Regions from separate parts of the Homo sapiens genome. Here all the other regions are linked to region 2. The links are contacts of gene promoters, found by promoter capture Hi-C in blood cells and fetal thymus (Javierre and others, 2016). All regions are on one chromosome and are shown on one strand. The core of a region is centred on a gene start or on the middle of the fragment in contact, and the rest is flanking DNA. Distances in the headings are between cores, read along the strand shown.

Evidence for each region. Contacts are between HindIII fragments. The CHiCAGO score rates a contact against its expected background, and 5 or more counts as called.
Region 1: a contact is called between a fragment that was not itself captured here and the fragment with the promoter of RGS9 in region 2, in 4 of 17 cell types (naive B cells, total B cells, M0 macrophages and 1 more). The highest score is 7.6, in naive B cells.
Region 3: a contact is called between a fragment that was not itself captured here and the fragment with the promoter of RGS9 in region 2, in 2 of 17 cell types (naive B cells and total B cells). The highest score is 7.8, in naive B cells.

Annotation. Positions count from the first base shown.
Region 1 is chr17:64,956,085-64,959,791 of GRCh38, forward strand. It overlaps LOC107985000 (a long non-coding RNA gene), which reads right to left. Exons shown (of 3, transcript XR_001752973.3): 1 at 1,108-3,707; 2 at 870-872. It also overlaps the pseudogene SLC16A6P1. Among named protein-coding and RNA genes, the nearest start is that of LRRC37A3, 38 kb to the left of the region's middle. The HindIII fragment of the contact is 1,223 bases long and covers 798-2,020 here.
Region 2 is chr17:65,135,166-65,139,213 of GRCh38, forward strand. It overlaps RGS9 (regulator of G protein signaling 9), which reads left to right and starts at 2,205. Exons shown (of 19, transcript NM_003835.4): 1 at 2,205-2,432. The coding sequence starts at 2,376. RefSeq lists a silencer at 1,895-2,394. The HindIII fragment of the contact is 12,932 bases long and covers 1-4,048 here.
Region 3 is chr17:64,935,141-64,939,287 of GRCh38, forward strand. No RefSeq gene overlaps it. Among named protein-coding and RNA genes, the nearest start is that of LRRC37A3, 18 kb to the left of the region's middle. The HindIII fragment of the contact is 2,859 bases long and covers 250-3,108 here.

The DNA of each region.
Region 1 (3,707 bases), core at 159-2,658, 180 kb before region 2:
CTTAGCCCAAGAAGAACAAGTATATTGGGTGTTTGTCTCTTTCTCCTCTCCAGTCTAGTAAAGATTTCTGCCCTTAACACCCATTTTTCTTTAGAAACACAAAAGAAAACAAGGAAGGCAATGAAACTGAGAGGCTTCTGAATGGGATGGTCGCCTGGGTGAGGGGCTTATGTCTAGGAAGGATGCTGTTAACGGACGCCATGCTCTCTTCCAGGTTTGTTGGTGGACCAAAGTAAGATCTACAGCAGGGCCTTCTACTCCTGCGCAGCTGGCATGGCCCTGGCTGCTGTGTGCCTCGCCCTGGTGAGACCGTGTAAGATGGGACTGTGCCAGCATCATCACTCAGGTGAAACAAAGGTAGTGAGCCATCGTGGGAAGACTTTACAGGACATACCTGAAGACTTTCTGGAAATGGATCTTGCAAAAAATGAGCACAGAGTTCACGTGCAAATGGAGCCGGTATGACACACTTTCTTACAACAACAGCCACTGTGTTGGCTGGAGAGGGATGGGGTGGGCCCAACGGAGACACAAGGAGGTAGAGGAGCTAACCCCTCTACTCCACTTTCAAAACTACATTTTAAAGGGAATGTGTATGTGAAGAGCACTACCAACATCGCTTTTGTTTTAAGTTTTCCTTTTTGCTTGTTTTTAAAGCCAAAACAAAAAACAACCAAGCACTCTTCCATATATAAATCTGGCTGTATTCAGTAGCAATACAAAAGATATGTAGAAAGACTCTTTGGTTCACATTCCAATATTAAAATAGTGACACGAACTGGCAAAGTGGTTTTAAAAGCTTTCACATGGGATAAATGATTTTCTTTCTTTCTTTTCTTTCTTCGTATGGTCTTGTCAGAATAAACTACTATCTTGAATAAAACAACATCCAACCCAGGTCATTGAAATGAAATTGGCCAGTCAAAAAAAAAAAAAAAGACTTCAATCATTTAAAAAATTCCTAATTTTCAGAAATATGAATAAATGGTTTTTGTTAAACCCTTTGTAAAATACTGAGGTTCCCATTAACAAATTATGGCTTCTGCTTGCTGGAAATGAAGTATAGTTTAAGACCAAACATTTTACTAATAAGCAAATTTTAAGTACATATATAACTTGAACTTCATAAATGTGAAGATTACCACTTCTTTTTATGGCCAGTCCTTACCAGAAGTGTTTCAGTACAGAATATACAAAATGGCATTTAAAAATGTGTTTCCTGTTGCTTTTAGTTATACAGAAATATGTGACTGTAGTGTCTTTAATTTAAACCGCTATTTATTATTAAGTTATTCTAGGATGATTAATCAAAAGAAATAAAATCTGAGACATAAGCAGCATTTTTACCTCCTTTCTGCAGTCCTTTAAATGCCTCACAGAATACGTCTTATCTTGTAAAAAATACTTTCATAAAAGGCCAAGTTGTCATGATTCTTCCATTTGATTAAGGGCAACATGTGCTATTTAAAGGGGAAAAAATAACGGATAGCAAATCACCTTAGCTTTCAAAAATAATTTGTTTTATCATCTAAGAATACTTGAGGAACTTCTTTGATCAGAATTATATTTCATTGAACTGTTAAAGCATTTCTGATTTAAAGAAAAAACCATCTAATTGTTGAAGCATTTCTGTATTTCACATGGGGGTAACAGAGACATTTATGTTATAGCGAGTTACAAGTTGCAATTTACATCTTCTATAACTCACAACTTGATTGTTCTAAGTTGCCAGAGGTATCGGGTAACTGGTCATTGTTTTTTTGTTGTTGTTGTTGTTGTTTGTTTTATTTTTTATTTTTGGAGTCACACTACATGTATAGTATTGCTCACGTTACAGTTTTCTGTAAAGAGGACAAGTGTCAGGATAATAGGTGGACTTTTTACTCACCTATTTTACTGCAATCTCACCCTGCAGGTGACGGTCAATGCTCGCTGCTCCATCTTTACTCATCATTAATGTTAATTTATGACAACTCGGGGGAAAAACATAACAAGCCTAGTTTGGTTACAGGTACACACAAGCTTGAATATTTCTCTGCACTGAAATGAAAGTGGCATAGTTCATCACCACCTGCTACATTTTGTAGAGCATCTTACCAGCCATAGAAATAGGACAATCTATAAAACTTTGGGGAGGGTGGGGGAGGAAATGACACAGTGTCTGTCAAAAACAGGCATAATCTAAAACAAGGTGGATATAGCAAATCTCTGCCACTGCTTGAGAAGAACTTTGAGCTTGTGGCAGTTTTGCAGACTTACATGACTTCAGCACTTTACAACGTATTTTTACTATGAATGTTCAATACAATTTAATATTTATAACTGATTTCAGAGGGATCTGCTCCATGTCTATTCTGTTACCTGCATGAAAAGAGAATGCATGCCAATTTCAGTATGTCAATAATCAAGGTTTTAAATGTTTGGAAGAAAATAAAAACAAGATTGCTGATTTGTTCTGTATTAGTGACATTCTGGTACTTCTAGATTTGCAATACATTTATGGCTTTTTTATTTAAAGATACTGATTTTCTTCTGTTATAAGATTTTTTTATTGACTCTCACAGCATTCAGTATTTGATGCAATTAAAGTTATAAAAACTCACCAAAGATTCACTCCAAATAAATAATTTTTTAACGTTTATCTTCTGCAAAACCTTTTAACTCTACTAGAGACACATAAAGTTTCCCAAGAAGTGTCTACTGAACTTTTTATTTATTTATATTTACTAGTATTTTTTTTTGAGATGGAGTTTCACTCTTGTTGCCCAGACTGGAGTGCAATGGCACAATCTCAGCTCACTGCAGCCTCCCAGGTTCAAGTGATTCTCCTGCCTGAGCCTCCCGAGTAGCTGGGATTACAGGTGCCCGCCACCACGCCTGGCTAATTTTGTGTATTTTTAGTAGAGATGGGGTTTCACCATGTTGGCCAGGCTGGCCTCAAACTCCTGACCTCAGGTGATCCACCTGCCTCGGCCTCTCAAAGTGCTCGGATTACAGGTGTGAGCCATCGTGTGTGGCCTGAACTTTTAAATCATTTTTTCTGGTCATTGAAAGCAGGACAATTTTATTTTATGTTGAGTTTTTCATGCAAATTACAGCACCTTAGAAAAAGACTAAATAATTCAAGGGAAATATTAAGTAATGAATAACAGGAGAGCGAAATAAAAATTAAACAATATAATCAAATGAAGAAGCATGTTTTCATCTAAGAATTAAGAATGAAAGCAGCGATGGTATTTAATTATTAATGAAAAATACATGAATGAAATGATATCATGGTAGCCAGAGTAAGCCTATCAAAAGTCATAACGGCAAATAGTTAAAGACTACAACCAGTTACAGAATCGTTCCAAGAACTGTTGCAACCTGTAAGTAAACAGCACAGACTCTACATGCCAGGGTTTGGCAAACTTTTTCTGTAAAGGTCCAGATAGTAAATATTTAAAGCTTTGCAGGCCATGAGGCCTCTGTCTAGTCAACTCTGCCATTGAGGGTCAAAAGCAGCCACAGACAATATATAAATGAATGAATGTGGCAATGTTTCAATGGAATTTTATTTATGGATACTGAAATGTGAATTTCACAAGATTTTCATACAGGAAATATATATTTTTTCAATCACATAAAAATGTTAAACACACACACACACACACACACACACAATTAGCTCTCAAGCTGAAAAAAAAAAAATTCTAGCTCCTTCACCA
Region 2 (4,048 bases), core at 955-3,454:
CTTCTTGATGCTTAGGGTTTCTAGAGACAAGGGATGTTGAAGCTGGAAGGAACTTCATAGCTCATCTTGGTCAGATCCCAGCATGTGCTCTGTATAACACTAGGCTCAAAAGATGCTTCATGAGAAAAAAAATCAAGATATTCCAGCATTTTCTTTGGATTTAAACTCACACCAGGCTCAAAAGATGCTTCATGAGAAAAAAAATCAAGATATTCCAGCATTTTCTTTGGATCTCAGCTCACACCAGGAGCATACTTCTCAGTGGTTCAATTTGCTTGGCAGGATCTCTGGTCTTCTGCTTGGATGGATCTCTGCAGGGTCCAGCGTCCTCTAAATTGGAGGCTCTGAATCAGGGATTCCTGAAAAGGCACAAGAGAGGCCCAAGCATGAACCTCTTGAAATTGTTTGCAAACTTCAGTCAGTGTTGTGTACATGTGCATGTGTGTGTGTTCCTGAGTGTCCATAGCTTTCATCAGATTCTTACAGGTAAATATCACCCGAGAGAATGGATAAGAACCACTGCTTTTTTTTTTTTTTGAGACAGAGTCTCACTCTGTCACCCAGGCTGGAATGCAGTGGCTCAGTCTTGGCTCACTGCAGCCTCTGGGTTCAAGTGATTCTTGTGCCTCAGCCTCCTGAGTAGCTGGGATTACAGGTTGCTCCACCATGCTGATTGATTTCTGTATTTTTAATAGAGATAGGGTTTTGCCATGTTGGCCAGGCTGGTCTTGAACTCCTGACTTCAAGTGATTCACCCGCTTGGGCCTCCCAAAGTGCTGGAATTATAGGCGTGAGCCATCACACCCAGCCAAGAACCACTGCTTTAAAGGGACATTGGTTGACTGTGCCTTCCTAAGGTAAAGGCCTTCTTGTTTTCTTCCAACTTAAACATTTTATCTGCTACACTCAATAACCATCGAGTATGTTTAAGAGAAAGTGCTTTATATAACAAAGCAGAAAGGCTCTTGATAATAACTTAGAGGCTTCATCCTTGCATTTTTCTCAAGATGAAAACGCTAACATAATGAGCTGTCAAGGTAGGTTCATCAATTGTAACAAATGGGCCACTCCAGTGGAGGATGTTGATCATGGGGGACGCTGTGCGTGCGTGGGGAGAGGGGATATATGACGTGTCCCTATACCTTCCGCTCAATTGTGCTGTGAACCTAAAACTGCTCTAAGAAATAAAGTCTATTAAAACAAGCAAACCAGCCAGCTGCAGTGGCTCACTCCTGTAATTCCAGCACTTTGGGAGGCCGAGGTGGGTAGATCGATTGAGCCCAGGAGTTTGTGAAACTCCCTCTCCACAAACAATTTTTGTAAAAATTAGCGGGGTGTGGTGGCACGTGCCTGTAGCCCCAGCTACTGGGGAGGCTGAGGTGGGAGGATTGTTTGAGCCTGGGAGGTTGTAGCTGCAATGAGCCATGATTACGCCACTGCACTCCAGCCTGGGTGACAGAGCAAGACCCTGTCTCAAAAAAAAAGTTAAACAACAACAAACCCAACAACCAACTAACCGAAACACTAAGAATCAGAGAAGTAAAATATAATTCGCTTCATCCAGACAGCTAGCCCGGTGAGGACTACAACCTTCCTCTCTTCCTTCTTCACTTCTTTGCTCTCTCTTTTTAAACCCACATCTTAGCAATTCCTCTGCTATTGGGTCATTAAATCGCCACCTCTAATTTTTTTTTCTAAGCATTTATTGAGGGCCAAGCACTGTGTTACACATCTCCTCATTAAAATGGTATAGCAACCTTTTCTGGTCGATATTATGATCCCATTTTTCAATTTTTACTTTTGAGTGAAGGACATTGATTCTTAGAGATTGTAAGGAACTTGCCCAAGGCTGCCGGCTGGTTAGTGGCAGAGCTGGGATGGGAAAGTCCGTATTTTCCACCGCGCTGTATTAGTGAGGGCTCTTTGTGTCACTTCTGTGCATAACTCCGCCCCAAGTTAAAAGGCTCGCTGCTCTCGACAGGTCCTCCTCCTCCTCCCGCTAGGTCCTCCTCCTCCTCCCGCCAGGTCCTCCTCCTCCTTCTCCTCCCGGGGCCCTGCCCTGCGGGTCTCACCTGCTGCTCCGCGGGGTCCCGGCGGGGGCCGGATAGCGCCCCCTGGCGGCAGGTGGGCGCCCGCGCAGCGCATGCTAATGAGCCCGCGGCGCCGCTCGCGGATTGGCTGGCGCGGATTCCAGCTGCTTTCCAAGTCAGCGGCGCCTAGTGAGAGTCAGGGGGGCCCGGCCCGCGCCCTCCCCGCCCAGCCGCCTCCCCGTCGACGCCCAGGGCTGGGGCGAGCCAGGCTGCCTTTCGAACTTGGGGGGCTTCTCCTCTTGTCTCCCACTGGTGCTCTGGCTGTGAATCCATCCAGGGGCCAGGATGACAATCCGACACCAAGGCCAGCAGTACAGGCCGAGGATGGCATTTCTCCAAAAGGTAACCCTGGCCCCTCACCTGGACCCTGGGAGGAGGGCGGGGGACCGCATCTGCGAAGCGTCCGAGGACAAGAGGGGCAGGAGTGGAGAGCACCCCTTTGGGTCGATTTGTGCTGCTCGATTTTATTAAGTGACTTCTTTGCTGTGTGTGTCGATATTGATGGCTATAATAATTAGGTTTTCGTGTGCCCTGCCTGTAGTGGAGAATCTGAAGCCAGCGCTGATGGTCTGCGGGAGGTGAAAACAACCTGTTACTCGGGAGAGGCAGGTTCAGTTCAGGCTGTGGCAGATTTGAGACAGCCTGCTGATATTGTTGTAAGACGACCAGATGTGACATTGCCATTTTTGCCTTTTTTTTCTGATCCCAAACTGCACTATTTTAAAGTGTGTGTGTGTGTACACATAGACCATGAAAACGGGGTGATTTGTAGGATAAAGGGCCACCCCATTTACAATGCCCTGAGAGCCCTCATTTGAGTGTGTCTATCTGTGCATCTCCTGCTGTCTGCGCTGGCGGCAGAAGTCCCAACCTTTTCGCTTCCCTTGCGAATGCTTTCCCAGACAAAGTGACCGGGCACAGGGTGTGCACACAGGATGGACATGTGGGAGGTGGAATGCACCTGTGGGGTGATGTGTTTGGGGACAAAGTGGTTCATTTAGTTCTGAGCTTCTGGTATAATCACTGTCCGATGAGATCTACAGAGGATTAGGTCCCGGGTCACATCTTTGTCCTTCCTCCCACCCGTAGCCACTTTTCACAGCGTAGTGTCCATCTTCTTAGGCTTATCTTGTTGAGTAGAATTAGTTGAATGTTTTGTGACAAGCTGAGCTCTCCCTGAGCCCCTGGAGCTCAGCAAATTTGTATAGTCAGTGACCGCTGTCCTGATTTGCCCAGGACTTTCAATGCTAAAACCTGGACAGTCCTGGGGACCCCGAGACGGTCGCATTTGGTCCACCTGTTTCAAGATGCTCGTGCTCATCTTCCGGGTAGCAGAGGTGTGGGTATCATCTGTAAAGCAGACAGGCTGAATGTTGTCTCACTCAGAAAGAACCCTGAGAGCCTGTATTGCAGATACCAGTTACTAAAAGCAGAAGAAACTGCCTAAGTCGGCTATCTCAAAGCCACACATCATCTTCCAGGATTTATCCTAGGACTGTCTCCTCCCAGGCAGGACAGCTCTGGCTTGGGGGCTCAGAGGGTAATTGTCAAGAGATAAATTCAGTTTGTTTATTGAATCTCTGGCATTCTTTTCCATCATGACTCTTCTCTGGTAGATTCTCCTCTCCTTACCTTGGTCTTCTGACTAGTGTCTTGGTCTCTAGTTTCTCTCCTCCACCCCAGGCTTCCCTCCTCCTCCCCAGCCACCCCTCCTCCACCCCAGCATCCCCTCCTCCACCCCAGCATCCCCTCCTCCACCCAAACTCTCCCTCCTCCACCTTAGTCTCCCTTCCTCCACCCTAACCTCTCCCTCCTCCATTCCAGCTCCCCTCCTCCACCCCAGCTCTCCCCCCTCCACCCCACCTTTCCCTCCTCCACCCCAGGTCCTCTTCCTCCACCCTGTCTTCCCCTTCCTCTACCCCATCCTCCTCCTCCTCCCCAGCCTTCTCCTCCTCCAT
Region 3 (4,147 bases), core at 429-2,928, 200 kb before region 2:
GACCCTAGAAACCCAGCAGAGGTGGACTCGAAGCCCATTCTGGGGAGAAGGCACCGGCAGGCTTCTCCGCCTGAGGTCTGCCCTCCTGAGGGTGCCAGGAGAGCACAGCCCTGGGAAGACTGTAGCCTGGGCTGTGACCTGAGGACTAGGAAGCGTTTATGACAGACATGGAGAGGCCTAAGTCCCTGCTGAAGCCCAGCATCACATCCCATTCCTGAGCACCAAAGGCCCCAGGCCCTGGGTAAGAGAAGCTTCCTAAAGGGCATCCTGAGGGCCCCGCCCTGATCACCTCTTCTTTGGAGAATTTCAGGAGGGAGGCTGGCATGGGCCAGACAACTGGCTGGACAGGGAAGAGGTGGGAATATCTGGACCTCGCCTGCCTCTCGCCACACTCCCCGCTTCCCTCCTCACTGTAGCCAAAGTTCTCCCTGTGCTTTCCACCGACAGTTCATGGCCTGTGCGTGCTATTCCTTCTGTCTGGAACGCCCTTTTCCCCTTTGCTTCCCCTTTCTAATTCGTCATTTTTCAGGTCTCACCTTAGAAGTCACTTCCTCCAGGAAGTCCTTCCTGCCTTGTCCTCCTCTGATCTGGGCTGGATGTAAGCCTCTGTGCTTCCAGGACGTCCTGCCTCTCACCCTCACCCCCGGATGGAGTTGCTGGTTTTCCCACCTGTCTCCCTCTCACCCTCACCCCCGGATGGAGTTGCTGGCATTCCCACCTATCTCCCCTCTCACCCTCACCCCCGGATGGAGTTGCTGGCATTCCCACCTATCTCCCCTCTCACCCTCACCCCCGGATGGAGTTGCTGGCTTTCCAACCTATCTCCCTCTCACCCTCACCCCCGGATGGAGTTGCTGGCTTTCCCACTTGTCTTCCCTGCCAGGCCAGAGGCTTCCAGCGGGTCGGCCCTGGCTCTGCCCTGCTCAGTGTTGGAGCCCACATGCCTTGCCAGGTGTGCAGTGCTTAGTATGTTCTCAGTCCATGTTTTTGAGTGAACAAATAGATACGTGAAAAAAAACCCAAAATCACCCCCAAAAGATGTGATCATTTCCCAGGCCCAATGGGAAGATCTCTGCCCATGTTTCCTCCAAGTGGACGCCTTGCCCTGGGCACTGCCCCCGTGTGTGTGTGTGTGTGCACGACTGCCTGCATGTGTGTACATTTGTGTGCATGTGCATGTGTGTGCAAGTCTGTGCATTTGTGTGTACATTTATGTGTGTGGGTGTGTGTGCGCATGTGTATGTGTGTATTCATGTGTGTGTGTTCGTGTGTGTTCATGTGTATGTGTGTGTGTTCGTGTGTGTGTGTGTGTGTGTTCGTGTGCATGCACGTAAAGGGTGCTCACCTCCTCCTGAGCTCCTTCAGGGCACCGCTCCAGCACGGGCCCAGGTAATCCCCCAGGAGCTTTAGCTGCTCCCAGCTCCTCCCGATGAGGTGCATCCGCTCCACATGCTCGTACAGAGATGCGTTTGCCATCTGCAGGTTGATGAGGGGCTGGGCCCAGATCTGCATCAGAAACTTCAGGGCCTGCCTGCAGATCTGGGGGCACCACCAGGCATTAGGGATGGGAAGGAATCGCTGTTCAATGAGCACTGCCCGGCCAGGTGCCACATGACCTCCTCACTTACCTGAGGGGCTATCTTCATTTTACAGATGGGGAAACTGAGGCTCAGGGAGATGAGGGGATTTGGCTAGGGTCACCCAGCTTGTAAATGGTACAGTCAAGCTCTGAACCCAGTTTATCTGACTCCCAAACCCACTCTCCCTCTAAGGGCAAGGGTCGCTGCCCCCTCCCCAACCATGCTGAGATGAGGGAGGGACTGCTTTGGTTAACGCCCCCTCCCTCTGGGCCTCACAGATCAGGGTCTCTGGGTTCAGGAACCCTTGGAGCTCTTTCCCCAGAGTTGTTTCCTGGCCATGCCCATCCTATTCCTGGAGTCAGAGTGCCACAGCAGACACATCTGAGCCGAGGGCTCCCTGTGACCTTCCTCCCTCTCCCACAGAGGCAGCCTTCCAAGTTTTCTACCCCCGACTACACAGTGGAGCTGAAGAGCACCACTCTCTGCTGGGCCCCTAAAACAAATCCAGTAAGAAGAACGTGCTGGAGGTGAGTGGTGGGGGTGGGGAGAAGGAGGGAAGGGGCTTAGTGATGCCTGCCAGCCCTCTGAAACTAGTGACCTGGAAATGACCTGGGGGTTTTTGACCCTTAATTCCCTATGAGCCAACACTGAGTGCAGCTTTTGGCTGTATTAATAGAGGTAAGAGTCCAGAGCCAGAGAGGTGATATTGGTGCAGTTGCTGGCAGTGCTCTGGGACCCTTACTGTAGGCAAGCCCCAAGTAGGAGGACCTGGGAAGAATTGGGGCTACCATTCTCAGGGCTCAAGGCCAAAGCTGCATCCCCGCCCCAGGGGACCTGTCCTGTGTTTCTAGCATCACAGATTCTGCAGTTCCCCCTCCAGGAGCTGAGTTAATAATAATCCTTGCCCTGGAGGGTGGTGAGGAGTAGGGCCTCTGGAAGAGGAAATTCTCATGCCTAGAATGGCAGCCCTCGTCCCAGCCTGAGAGAGACAGGAGGCTCCGTGTCCTTGGCTGCTTACTGTGACAGGCCTGGTTGGGAAACCTCTTTCTCCCCAGGTGCCCTTCCCTGTCCCTGAGCCAAAGCCCCATTTCTGTCTGGACTGCATCCCCAGTGAATAAACCGGGGCAGTGGGCAAGACTACCAGGTTACCCCCACAGGAAGGGAGAGAAGACCCAGGATGGGTACTCCCAATGCCACACCCTTCACTGTCCACGTCTTATCTTGTTTTTAAACTACTCTTACCCTGACCTCAGTCCCTAGAAGGTTTGAGGCAGATCACAACAGAAACACACGTGGTGAACTGGCAAATTCACTGAAAAGCCAGGACCACAAAAAACAAGTTAGAGATGGGACTCAAGATGGAGAGGAATTAGGGGGCAGATGATGTACAGGTGCTAAGGTGTGGTTGCTGAAGAAAATTTAGCTCTGACTTTCCTGCTAGGTAAGGTGAAAAGAGAGGGGCTATCAGGTGCATGTCTCTTTGTTGTTGAAAAAATAATAAAACCCACCCAGATGTTGAGGGAATCAAAGCTTTTTCCTAACCCTTCGCTCTTAAATTTCTTGTGTGTAGCTCTGTGAACATGGGATCTAGAAGGACAAGTCAGGTACCCTGCAAAACACCTCCAGGGAGGTTTAATGGGGCTGCTTCAGGTGGCATTATTATGATGAAGGCCAGCAGCATGACCTCATGTCTCAGCTCAGAAAAAGCAATTCTGCAAAGAACCTGACTGTGTAGTTTCTTGATTATTCACCAAGCTCCATTCAGTTCTAGAACCAGGATATCTACAAAGCAAAGTTGGAAAACTGGTTTCATCTCATGAGCTACTCTGATGACTAGGTCTGGAGTCTTGTGGGGTTTTGTTTTTATTTTTTGTTTCTGTTTTTGTTTTTGTTTTTAGAGACAAGGGAGCTTGGGTTTCCTTTCTACCCAGCAGGCATGGCTCAGTGGCAGACACCAACCACTGGCATCTGGGTTGTATTTCATAATTTGCACAGTACTTGCAGAACCTTGTCTCATTTAAGCTTTGTAATAACCCCACAAAAATAGCTGGTAGTAGCTGAATTTTACAGACACTGAAATGGAAGCTTGAAGAAATTAGGTGAAGGTCAGGGTGAGGCAGCTAGTGAGCAGCAGAGCCCGCCCTCTGGTCCCAAGGCCCAGGGACCCTTCTGCCTGCCCCTGGGGGAGTCAGGGCCTTTGCCTTTTGCCCAGGGCACACCCACTGGCCGCTCCCACTGGCCCCCCGCTGTGGAGACACCTCTACACTGTAAGAACTATCCAACCAAGGGGGCCAAAGCCAGCCTTGCTCCACAGTCCTGAGGCATCAGACACTGTGCAGACTGCCCTGCCCCCTGCTGGCTGCCTGTCTGCTTCCCGTGGCCAGCCCTGACCGCGGCCCCTGTCCCCCAGCCACTTATTGCTCGCCACAGCCCCTACTCTGCTGCTTCCATTCTGGGGCCCGAGTGGACGGGTGGACCTAGAGGAGGCTGGCATTGCTGAGCCAGCAGCAGGGACACTAGACACAGGCAACAAGGGTAATGGAGCAGAACACAGGCTCTGGAACCAG